Linked DNA regions of Homo sapiens: regions 2 and 3 are each linked to region 1. Evidence: promoter capture Hi-C in human tissues and cell types (Jung and others, 2019). All regions are on one chromosome and are shown on one strand. Each heading gives the region's core, a stretch centred on a gene start or on the middle of the fragment in contact. The rest is flanking DNA. Distances are from core to core; before and after follow the strand shown. Region 1 holds the start of DOCK5 (dedicator of cytokinesis 5). Region 2 overlaps DPYSL2 (dihydropyrimidinase like 2). Region 3 overlaps BNIP3L (BCL2 interacting protein 3 like).

Region 1 (3,961 bases), core at 50-2,549:
TTAGTAGAGAAGGGGTTTCACCATGTTGGCCAGGCTGGTCTGGAACTCGTGACCTCAGGTGATCCACCCGCCTCGGCCTCCCAAAGTGCTGAGATTACAGGCATGAGCCACCACGCCTGGCCAACTACCTGTCTTTACTATCTTTACTACATGTTTGTCTTCCTTTCTTTTATATTCCTAAAACGCATGAAAACCTTCACAGGCTGCAAGGAGGATATAATTTCTCTCTAGAGGAATCTTCTTCGAAGGTGAACGTAATTAAGCTGGTCATTTACTCTACTTGCAATGTTACTTCTCGGTACAAGGTAGGGAGAAACCCCTGGATCTTCATTCTCCAAGTCTCTCCAGGAAGAAATGAATTCCAAGAGGGGAGCTCCAGAGAGGGCGCCACCTGGAGCCCAAGGCGGTTCAAATGCGCAGCCCCTTTGGGATCTTCGTCAAGAAAAGGCAGTCGTTGACGGAGAAAAGACGGGGATGCGCCTTGGCCCTTTCTCCACGGGAATGCTCTCTGGGCTGCTGGCTGGTTGGGAAAGGGAGGTCTGGGCATGAGGGTCTAAGTTTCTTCAGCTTAAGGTTGGGGGGTCCCCGGAGTTTGGGGATACAGGACTTCCAAATTAGGGCTTTCTAAACAATTTCCCTGCAGAGGATCCCCTAGCAAACGGTCTGATACTTCTGAGGAGCCCACCTCCCTTGCACCAGCTCTCCGGTGATAAAAGTTCTGCTTTCCAGGCTCTAAGCGGTGGCCCCGGGAGATTCAGTCTGCCCTGAGTCCGGCTTCTCCCGCTCGCGGCGCGGGTTCAAGCTCCAGGGGGTGAAGGCAGAAGTCAACTGCTCATTCATTCAACAAATATTTATTGCGCGCCCGCTTAGTGCCAGGCACCGGAGGTGCCCCGAGCAAGAAGCCGCTCTCGCTGATCCGTTTCCGCTCCCCAAGTGTCCGGCGCGCGCCGTGGGAGCGCAGCCCGCATCCCTCGCCCACCGGCCGCCCGGCCTGGGCGTGCCCGGCTCCTCCAGCGCAGCCCTCTGTCGGGAGCCGGACCCCCGGGACCCAGCCTCCGGGGTATCAGCCGGGTGGGGAGGGCGGGAGAAAGGCAAAGTGCCGCCAGCGTCAAAGTCCCGCCGGCCCAGGAAGCCGCTCCAGGGAAGCGCGCGAGGCGGAGCCGCAGTCGGCCCCCGCCCGGCAGAGCGCAGAGAGCGGCGCGGGCGGGAGAGGCCGGGCGCCCGCGGCTCGGAGGCGGCCCCGGCGGGCGGAGGGTGCGGCCGGCGGGAGGGACTGGGGCGGCGCCAGGAGGGGCGCGCACTGCTGCGCTGCAGCCCGGCCCAGCAGGTGACCGCGGGCGGCGCGGGCACGGGCACGGGCGCGGGCGGCGCGGCGAGGAGGCGGCCCGCGGAGTCCAGCGAAGTTTGGCGGAACATGGCGGAAGCGTCTGGGGCACGCAGGAGCGCGGGGCGGCGGCGGCCGGAGCCCGAGGAGCTGTAGCAGCCTTAGTCGCCGCCGCCGCGGGGCGAGGTCGCCGCCATGGCCCGCTGGATCCCGACCAAGAGGCAGAAGTACGGGGTTGGTGAGTGCGCGCCCCACCTTGTCCCGGCCCGACCCACGCGGCCAAGTTCGCGGACAGCGGCCCTGCCAGGTTTGCGCAGAGCCCGGCGGAGGACCCTGGCCGGGGGCTCGGCCCGGCTGCGCAGCTCTGGGAGCCGGGGACGGTAGGAGTCCTCTCCAGGGAGCGCCGATGGGGAAGTCGCCCAGGGTTTGGGGACTCCGAGTGCTTCCAAGTGCAGCTGAGCTTCGGGACCGTAATCCCGCTCTTGCATCCCAATCTCCGGCACTTCACACCAGGGAAATGTCAACGCGAGGGGGGCGCGCCTGCTGCTCTTTTGGGGCCGCAGCTCTGTGGCTCGCCCCGGTGCGCCCAGCGTGGGTTTCACCTGGGAGTAGGTGACCAGCCCGGGTCGGCACATGGACTGGTGCTCATTGTCCCAGTGCTTTCTGCCCCCCGCTTTCGTAGGTTCTTCTCAGACGCCCCTTAAGTGAGGAGTTGAGGGTGGAAAGCCGCCCTGCCCCCTTTCCTCCAGAGACTGGGATCTTGATGACAGTTGTGAGCTGGATGGAAACTAGAGTCGTGGCGTGGAAGTGATGGAAGGGACAGGAAGTTGTGGCACGGGAAGGGGGTGGCTGGCCCCTGGGGCTGTTTGTGCGCACTCATCCCCTAACGGAGCCTGTCTGGAGAGGGTGTAAGGCTGCCTTCCGGATCCTGAGTTTCATCCTGGAGACGAGAAGAGGACATTTTATTAAGGAAACTGTGCCAGACCCCGTGCTGGGCACTTGGCATTCAGAACAGCGGTGCTGGAGAGCCCCGGGTTGTGCGCAGGGGTTGCTGGTGGTGGTGCTTTGGCTCCGAAACAATAGATGTGCGGGGATTTTGACCCAGGTGGAAAGTCAGGCTCCTTTGGCTTTTTATCAAGGATTGAAGTTATTGAGGGCCTGTGGGAAGACTTCTGCCCTGAACGGGGTGATTACAATGGCAGTTAGACCTGGGGTGATTCCCTACAATAAACACGGCTGAGTGTGTTGCGAATTTTATCACTTCCTCTCAGATCCATTCATTTGGCCTGTTTGTAATTTAGTCTTTGACTTTACTCCCTTACTGAGGTCCTGTTTTTCCTCACCTCACTGGTTAATGAAGTGCAGTCTCAATTAAGAGCTACTCAACGTGTCTAGGGGCTTTTCAACTCTGTAGCCAGGAGTCAGGGTTTTTTGTTGTTGTTTGTTTTGTTTTTTAACAGTCTCATATTTACTATATTATTCTTAGGTTGTGATCCTTTATATATTTATTATTTTTTGTTTTCCCTCAATTCAAAAGACATTTTCTTTTTTGCTCTTAAGTTGCTTTTAGAATCTTAGTCTCTCCCTTAGCTGCATCTCAGAAATGGGTAGAGATGTTGCTTCTGCCTCAGGGCTCTTTTTTTTTTTTTTTTTGGTTTGTTTGTTTTTGAGACGGACTGACGAGGGAGTCTCACTCTGTCGCCCAGGCCGGAGTGCAGTGGCGCAATCTCGGCTCACTGCAAGCTCCACCTCTAGGTTCCAGCAATTCTCCTGTCTCAGCCCCCCTCCCCGAGTAGCTGGGATTACGGGCTTGCATCACTACACCTGACTAATTTTTGTATTTTTAGTAGAAACCAGGTTTCGCCATCTGGGCCAGGCTGGTCTCAAACTCCTGACCTCAGGTGATCCGCCTGCCTCGGCCTCCCAAAGTGTTGGGATTACAGTCATGAGCCACCTCACCTGGCCCCTAGATGAAAGCATATTTACAATGCCCAATCACTACAGAAATGTTATCAACTCTAATTTTATCAGGATTAAAAGCTCTTTTCAAAACTATTCAGTTGAGGGTAATTAATGCAAACATGTTTCAAAAATGTGGTTTTTATTGCCATAGTCCTAGGAGCAAGTATAATTGTTTTTAATATTTTGTTTTTATGTTCTGGAGTCAGTTTACTGTGTCACTTATCAGTCAAGAAAAATATTTGGGCCAGGTGCGATGGCTCACGTCTGTAATCCCAACAATTTGGGTGGCAGAGGCAGGAGGATTGCTTGAGCCCAGGAGTTCAAAACTAGCATAGCAACATGGCAAACGGGTCTTTACAATAAATACGAAAAAAATTTAGCCGGGCATGGTCGCCTGTGCCTGTGGTTCTAGCTACTGAGGAGGCTGAGGTGGGAGGATAGCTTGAGCCTGGGAGGTTGAGGGTGCACCGAGCCCCCATCACGACACTGCACTCCAGCCTGGGTGATACTGTGAGACCCGATCTCAAAAAAAAAACTATATATACATATATATACGTATATATATATATACACACACACACACACGTATACACACACATATATGTATATATGTATATACATATATATGTATATATGCGTATATGTGTGTGTGTGTATATATATATGTATATGGAA
Region 2 (3,961 bases), core at 996-3,495, 1.4 Mb after region 1:
TTCACCTCCTTCCCAGCCCCGCTCCCACAGCTGGGCACGGTTTATTGGACCAGGCTTCAGAGGATGGGATTGTAAGTAACTCAACAGGACAGGATGGGAGCGCTCCAAGAATCAGATCTAAGTTTAACTTCCCTTTCTAGTGCTTTCTGTCTGAGCGTGATCATCCTAATGTGTTTCTAGATGGCTATTTCCACATGTGTAAAGTGGAGACAATCAATTCTTATGTCTTACGACTATGGAAAAAGTGAGTTTTTTTGTGCCATACTATTTGAAAGTAATCATTGTGACACCTTTGGAACAAGTGTGAAAAGATCTCCCTCTCTCTCTCTCTCACACCTGTCTGTATCCATCTTTATCTTTTTATCATCTATCTCTATCTATCTATTAATATATATTTATCTATCTAGCATGACCTGGGATAGGTGAATTCTATAGCCAGGTGGCCTCCAGAAGCTTACGAAATGATCGTCTACCAAATCTACCATCTATCTATTTCCCTACCTACCTATCATTTATCTAATCTATCTATATATTGATATATATCTATCTGGTCTATATCTATCTTGATATGACATCTGTCTGTACCTATGGTCTATCATCTCTATTTAATCCATCGTCTCTATATCTATTGATTATCACTTATCTGTTTTACTTATCCTAATCTATCATTAATCTATCATCTTTCTAATCTATCTGTATATATCTATTGTTTATCTAATCTATCAATTGACCATTCATCTGTTCATCTTTCATATACCAAAGATGCAGTTGCATGCCACCTGATTCCAGATGGGTTATCTCACTTCACTGTCACTTAGTGAGATCAGGAAGAAGTCTCAAGGATTGTTTCAACTTCAAGCCTATGTACATGAGTTTGCGTTTTGAACATAGCAGGAAAAACAACGATGTATAAGAAGCTTTCTTATTGGCTGGGCATGGTGACTTATGCCTGTAATCCCAGCACTTTGGGAGATTGAGGTGGGAGGATCACTTGAAGGCGCCAGGAGTTCAAGACCAGCCTGGGCAGCAAAGTGAAGCCTTGTCTCTACCAAAATCAATCAATCAATCAATCAATCAATAACTAAAAATAAAAATAAAAAATTAGCTGGGCGTGGTGACACATACCTGTAGTCCTAGCTGCTTGGGAGGCTGAGGTAGGAGGATTGCTTGAGCCCCAGAGTTTGAGGGTGCAGTGAGCTATGATTGTGCCACTGCACTTCAGTCTGGGAGACAGTGAGACCCCATCTTAAAAAAAAAGGTATAATGTAGCTTATAGGGCTTATAATCCTGTAAGAAGACTTCTTATGCAAGAAAATAAAAATTTTACTTTTCGCTATTTTTTTTTTCCTCCTCCAAATAATCTCTGGAGAATTTGGAGCCTGATTTTCTTGACAACACATCTGGCCCTGCAGATGTAAAGCAGTGTTCCCAGAAAACAGCCCGTCAAATCAATAACTCTTGCTATCTTTGAATTTTCAGCCTTTTTTGGCATTCAAATGAGGCCAACTTTATAAGTGGCCATTGCTGTGCTGTTGAATTCAAGCCCCTCCGTTTTTCATGGTGGATTCCTTGCATTGTCTGCTAGGGGGGTTGCATTCCTCGCTGAACCAGACCTCTGCCCTCTTCCCCGCTGCCTTGCAGTTTGCTGAGCTTCCAGGCAGGGCTGCAGGGTCGTGCTGCTGGAAGTATTGGTGACAAATTCTTCCCCAGTGGGTGTTTCGGCTAAGGAAGCATTTAGTCATGTAGGGCCTACCATGCCCAGCAGTGCAGCGTGGGAGAGGCCTGGCAGAGGGCAGAGCTCTCTTCTCTCCAGCCGGGTGTGGCTGGTGGCTCCTTCCTCTTTTGTAGTGTCAAACCAAGGGATAGTATGGACCCAGCAGAACTGAAAGCAAAGGGAGGACCCATTATTAGCCAGTTCTGGCAGAGGCGAGCAGCTTCTTTGTGTGGACAGGCATATCTCATGCCTTTTTGCTTCAGCTGGGAGTTTGTTTTTTTTTTAATTACTGTTATTTATTTATTTAGTACCTTAGCTCATTAGCTGCAGAAATCACAGGGGATGAAAAAGCAGGTAGGATGGGTCCATCCTTAAAGCAAGGAGAGAGTTGAATGAGGAAACTGTCCCTGAGGCCTTGACAGATATTTTGGAGCTAACTCTGAGCCCAGTGAGGGAGGACCTAATCTTTTGGAGGAAGTGCAACTTTAGCTTCAGAGTTTTAAATGGAAACTGGGCAGAAAGCCACAGCTTGGGCACAGCATTGGTGGCGTGTTGTTGTGTCACTTTGCACAGTTAGATGGGGCTTCAGCCCTCTTTGTAGGATGAACGTTTAGGTTCTTGTCCAAACGAATACACTTCTATATCCTACTAAAAATGATTGCAGGACAGCAGTGCAAACCAGGGCTGTCCTAGGCAAACCCAGGCATCTGTCACTCTAAAGGACACAAGGACACGTGTTGAGTCCTCTTGTCCTCCAGTGAGCTCGGGAAGGGGATGACCCTAGCAGTTGCTCTCTGGACCTCTCCACAGACCTGCCGGGAGTCATGGGTAGGAGTTGTGTGATTCTGTCCTTTTCACAAGAGATGGTTAGAAGAAAGTGAGGAGTTTGGAGGGAGCAGATAATTGATATCATTTATCGGGAATCTGTGGGACGCAAGCCCTGCATACACCATTTCTAATCCTTCCATCAACCCCGAAGATAGATAGGCTTATCCTCCTGTTATAAATGAAGTAATGAGCAGTCCAGAGAAGTGAAATGACTTGCCTGAAGCCACAGAGCCTGCAAGTGCGAGGGCTGGGATTCCAATCCAAGCTCTGGGCCAATGGCCCTTGCATATCCTAGAATGCGAGAGGAACGTTTGTTTTGTAGCAGTTAGACAGCCTGCTCATGAAAGCTGCTTTGTGCCCAGCCTTGTGACAGGTGCTTTACAACAATCCCAGACACAGCACCCACCTTGAGTTTGCCCTCAGGTACAGGGCTCCTATCCATCCTGGAAGAACAGAAAGATTTTGGTGTTCAAGTTTTATCCTGCCCTTCCATCCACCTGTTATTTAAAAGTACTTTTTCTGTAATATATAGGCAGAAAATGATCAGATATCATACGTCTCCTACTAAGTGGGAGGCTGCACCCAGCATGGAAGATGCTCACCAAGACGGTGGTATATTGGGTGTCTCTTCTCTCCTACAGAAGCCCTGGGTTGATGCCCTAGATCTCCCCTTGCATCCCAGAGGGGGATTTGGAGAGCAATCAAGAGGAGTAACTGATGCCATGCATTCATCAACTGAACTTAATCCTTCTTCTGGGAGGCCCGGGAGCCTTCTTCCATGCGGGGCCAGATTGAGCTGATTTCTGTCACGTAGGCTGCTCCGAGGTTGCCTTGCCCTTGCCTGGCACTCATCTTTTGCATTTCTCTGAATCGCTTTGGCGTGGGCTTTTATGAGGTTCATTAGGCTCAGCACCTCCCATGTCTGCTTGGGAAACACCACGGGCAGATGGCATTTTTCTTTTCTTTTCTTTTTTTTTGGATACAGAGTCTCCCTCCGTTGCCTAGGCTGGAATGCAGTGGCTTGATCTCAGCTCACTGCAAGCTCCGCCTCCCAGGTTCACGCCATTCTCCTGCCTCAGCCTCCCAAGTAGCTGGGACTACAGGCGCCCGCCACCACGCCCAACTAATATTTTGTATTTTTAGTAGAGATGGGGTTTCACTGTTTTAGCCAGGATGGTCTCGATCTCCTGACCTTGTGATCCACCCGCCTCGGCCTCCCAAAGTGCTGGGATTACAGGCAAGAGCCACCGCACCTGGCCTCTTTTTTTTTTTTTTTTTTTTGAGGGGCAGAGACAAGGAGGAAGATCAGACAATTTCTCAGAGTTGGAATTGTGTTCTGGGTATTGTTTTTCTCCTTTATGGAGATAATCCAGGGAGAAACATGAAGTGTAATGGAAAGAATTTGAGGCCCAACCTTCT
Region 3 (3,961 bases), core at 688-3,187, 1.2 Mb after region 1:
TGTCAGCAGGTATAGTTTAAACTTTCAAAAACCTTTGACATTGCCTTTTTTTAATGGAAGAAACAATAATTTAAAAATTAATTTCTTTAGGATTTGGGAAAATTGATTTTCTTCCTGAATAAGAAGAAAGTTTAGGGTTAGGAAACTTAAAAAAGCAGTTAAAGGACTGTTATTGTACTTGATCTTATAGAATGTTTTTATATGTGTTTATAAGGACTATATATAATTTTCAAGCTTTTCTAAGATGAGGAAGTAAAGTCACTAACATTAACTAGATATGTTCTAGGTACTCAGTTTCTTTTTTTTTTTTTTTGGAGACAGCGTCTCAGGGTCTTGCTTTGTCACCCAGGCTGGAGTGTAGTGGTGCAGTTGTAGCTCACCACAGACTTCGATTCCCGGCTCAAGCAATCTTTCTGCCTCAGTCTCCCTAGTAGCTGGGACTACAGGCTCACACTGCCACGCCTGGCTACTTTTTTATTTTTTTTTTGTATAGACAGAGTCTCGCTATATTGCCCAGGCCGTTTTCAAACTCCTGGCCTCAAATGATCCTCCCATGTCGGCCTCCCAAAGTGCTGGAATTACAGACATGAGTTACTACTCCCACCTCTCTTTTAATGTTCTCAATCCAGTGAAAGCAATGATATTATCCCCATGGACCAGTGGAAAAAGTGAGGCTTTGTACTAATTACTTATCTAAGATCACAAAGCAAGTCACTGTTAGAGCCAGGATTCAAAGCAGGTCTGAGTCTGTGGCCCTTGTTCTTTCTACTGAACTAAGTAAATGAATTCGATTGATAACAGGAGAGCTCACAAAGCCATGAGAATGAACTGAAAAATGTCTGCTGAGTTATGGTATGGGGAATCTGCCTAAGGCAGTGTGCACTTAGGAAAAAGACCATGAAACTGCTTTTCGGATGATCATCCTCAAGAGTCTCAGTTTTGTATCAGAAAACAGACTGTAGATTGTTTCTTCACTTGATCTTAGCCAAAAGTCCGAGAAGCGATATAGATTATTTATTGAAGACATTTTTGCATTGTGTTTCTGGGACCAAAAATGCCAGCACAATGTTGAGTGTTACTGAAAAATGATCCAAACAGAAAATATCCTCCATTTCCTGTCTTGTAAAACTGTGATTTTTATCTGTACATGAATCATGGTATACAGCTTAATATCCATATTTAGAGGACAGAGTGACCTTGAGGTAAACCAGAGAAGGAAAACTTAAGTGATCAGAAAACAAAGAACTCCATGTGAGAGAACAGGCTAGAACGATCAGAATCTTCTTTGTTTTTGTTTTTTGTTTTTGAGATGGACCTCACTCTGTCACCAGGCTGGAGTGCAGTGGCATCGGCTCACTGCAACCTCTGTTTCCAGGTGGTTCTGCTGCCTCAGCTGCCCAAGAAGCTGGGATTACAGGTGTGCACCACAACGCCTGGCTAATTTTTGTATTTTTAGTAGAGACAGGGTTTCGCCGTGCTGGCCAGGCTGGTCTCAAACTCCTAACCTCAAGTGATCCGTCCACCTCGGCCTCCCTAAGTGCTGGGATTACAGGCATGAGCCATGGTGCCCAGCCAGAATCTTCTTTGAATAGATGTAGGTATAGAGAGAGGATTATTGATTTTAAAAGCACAAATCTTACGTAATTAGATTAAGTACATTTTTACCATATTCTGGAATTCTAAGAATTGGAAGGCAGTTTAAAACCTGAAAGTGGCAAATTTAAGATTAATAAAAGGAAGCACAGAGTGGTAGTGAATGAGGAAAGCTTACCACTCTTATTCTTAAAGTATTGTAAGTTGGGAAACTTATGGAGTTCTTTTTTGTTTTGTTTTCTTTTTAAAACACTTGTCCAGAGATAACTTTGCTTCATTCAACTGAGAAAATTCCATCCTCATGAAAAAAAAAATTAGAGCGTGAAATCTTACTGCGTTTCATTCTGTCAGAAATTATGAAATATTAACTTGTTAAATCTTTGAGCAGGTTTAAAGAAAGATCTGTGAGGCCAAAGCAGGAAACTAAACAGAAGCGACCTGCAGTGTGTTGAGTATAGTCAGATATTGTGTGTACAGGAACTGATGTGCAAGTAAATTGTAACAGTTTATTGTTTTTGATTTGGGATGATTTCAGTGTTACTCCAAAGAGCCAACTCATGATTCTGAGTAATCTCAATAGCCAATGGAAGGAGCTTAATCCTAAATGCTACATTGTGTCATTCAGTGGAATTTGCCAAGTTCAGCAGAACTAGATAAGATTGGTACTAACAAGAGCAGCAGAACGCACAGGGGTTTTACTTTGCCCTGTCTGAAGCTCCTTCCTGGGGTAGCTGTTTCACAGAGAACTAGACCTGTCAAGAGTCATGTGAATATGTCAGACTCTGCATTTCTTAGCTACCTACTGAAAAGAATGACAGCTTTGGTCATTCTTTTGAGTGAATCCTAGTCAAACAAAATAAAATGTCAAAATGCTTCTTAGTTTTGAGACCCCTGGGTTTGGGATCATAGCATGACATCCCTTAAAACTGACTATGACCAGGCACGGTGGCTCACGCCTGTAATCTCAACACTTTGGGAGGCTGAGGCGTGTAGATCACTTGAGGTCAGGAGTTCGAGACCAGCCTGGCCAACATGGTGAAACCCCGTCTCTACGAAAAATATAAAAATTTGCCAGGTGTAGTGCCAGGCGCCTGTAATCCCAGCTACTCTGGAAGCTGAGGCAGGAGAATTGCTAGAACCCAGGAGGCAGAGGTTGCAGTGAGCCAAGGTCGCGCCACTGCACTCCAGCCTGGGTGACAGAGCGAGACTCCGTCTCAAAAAGAAAACTGAATAAATAATACTGAATAAATAAATATCATTTTTAGGACTTTTTCATTCCTTTTGGTTCTATTAAAAGGGGAGCTATTGGAAATGTTAATTGTTCTTGGCCTGAAACTTTAGGTTATAATAAGCAATTTTTAAAAGTCACATTTTTTATTTTATTTGATATGACACATGTTAAATTCTGACTCAACTTATTATAGATTATTCCCAAAAACTTTTGGCTAACATAGTTTCGAAACCTTGGAAAATGTTTGTATAGCAATTTGTCCTAAAAATATAATCTCCTTCCAGAGAGTAAACCCTGGTGCTTAACAGTAGGGCCTCTCTATACAGTATTCCTGGGTTTGAATACTGGCCCTGCTATGTACTGGTTGTGGAACCTTAGGCAAGTTATTTAATCTATGTCTCAGTCTCCTCATCTGTAAAATGGGATTTTAATAATTATTTTTATAGGGTTATTTGTTGCAAGGTGAAAGTTAATGCATGTGGCTGGGTGCAGTGTCTCACACCTGTAATCCCAGCACTTTGGGAGGCTGAGGCAGGGAAGATCCCTTGAGCCCGGGAGTTCAAGACCAGGCTGGGCAACATAGTGAAACACTGTCTCTTTAAAGAAATACAAAAATTAGCTGGGCGTGGTGGCACACACCTGTAGTCCCAGCTACTTGGGAGGTTGAGGTGGGAGAATTAATTGAGCCCAGGAGTTCGAGGCTGCAGTAAGCTGTGATTGCACTCTGGCCTGGGTGACACAGGAGACCCTGTCTCCAGAAAAAAAAAAAAAATGCATGTAACATGCTTGGAATAATATTTGCCCCTTTAAGTGCTCAATAAATACTATTATTTATTTCCTCATCACATCTCTCACTTATTTTTGTTTTACTTCTCATCATTTTATTTTTAGCATATCCTTTTATTTCCTTTTATTTTTTTAATTATGAAATTTTTTTTTTTCTTTTTTTTGTTGAGATGGAATCTCACTCTATCACCCAGGCTGGAGTGTAGTGGCTGGATCTCGGCTCCACCTCCCAGGCTCAAGCAACCTCCACCTCCCAGGCTCAAGCGATTCTTCTGCCTCAGCCTCTCAAGTAGCTGGGATTACAGGTGCCCGCCACCATGCCCGGCTAATTTTTTTTTGTTTTGTTTTGTT

The links. Contacts are between HindIII fragments. The study calls those that stand out against the background at their distance.
Region 2: a fragment that was not itself captured here is called in contact with the fragment with the promoter of DOCK5 in region 1 in 1 of the 25 tissues and cell types used here (hippocampus).
Region 3: a contact is called between a fragment that was not itself captured here and the fragment with the promoter of DOCK5 in region 1, in 1 of the 25 tissues and cell types used here (hippocampus).

Annotation. Positions count from the first base shown.
Region 1 is chr8:25,183,390-25,187,350 of GRCh38, forward strand. It overlaps DOCK5 (dedicator of cytokinesis 5), which reads left to right and starts at 1,300. Exons shown (of 52, transcript NM_024940.8): 1 at 1,300-1,562. The coding sequence starts at 1,520. LOC124901912 (a long non-coding RNA gene) reads right to left here and starts at 988. Exons shown (of 2, transcript XR_007060861.1): 1 at 1-988. RefSeq lists silencers at 1,118-1,197, 1,208-1,377, 1,548-1,597. The HindIII fragment of the contact is 16,568 bases long and covers 1-3,961 here.
Region 2 is chr8:26,593,973-26,597,933 of GRCh38, forward strand. All of the region lies in intron 3 of DPYSL2 (dihydropyrimidinase like 2), which reads left to right. LOC124901916 (a long non-coding RNA gene) reads left to right here. Exons shown (of 2, transcript XR_007060865.1): 2 at 1-1,357. Among named protein-coding and RNA genes, the nearest start is that of DPYSL2, 82 kb to the left of the region's middle. The HindIII fragment of the contact is 4,444 bases long and covers 24-3,961 here.
Region 3 is chr8:26,403,234-26,407,194 of GRCh38, forward strand. The region is part of intron 3 of BNIP3L (BCL2 interacting protein 3 like); the gene reads left to right. Among named protein-coding and RNA genes, the nearest start is that of BNIP3L, 22 kb to the left of the region's middle. The HindIII fragment of the contact is 5,499 bases long and covers 1-3,961 here.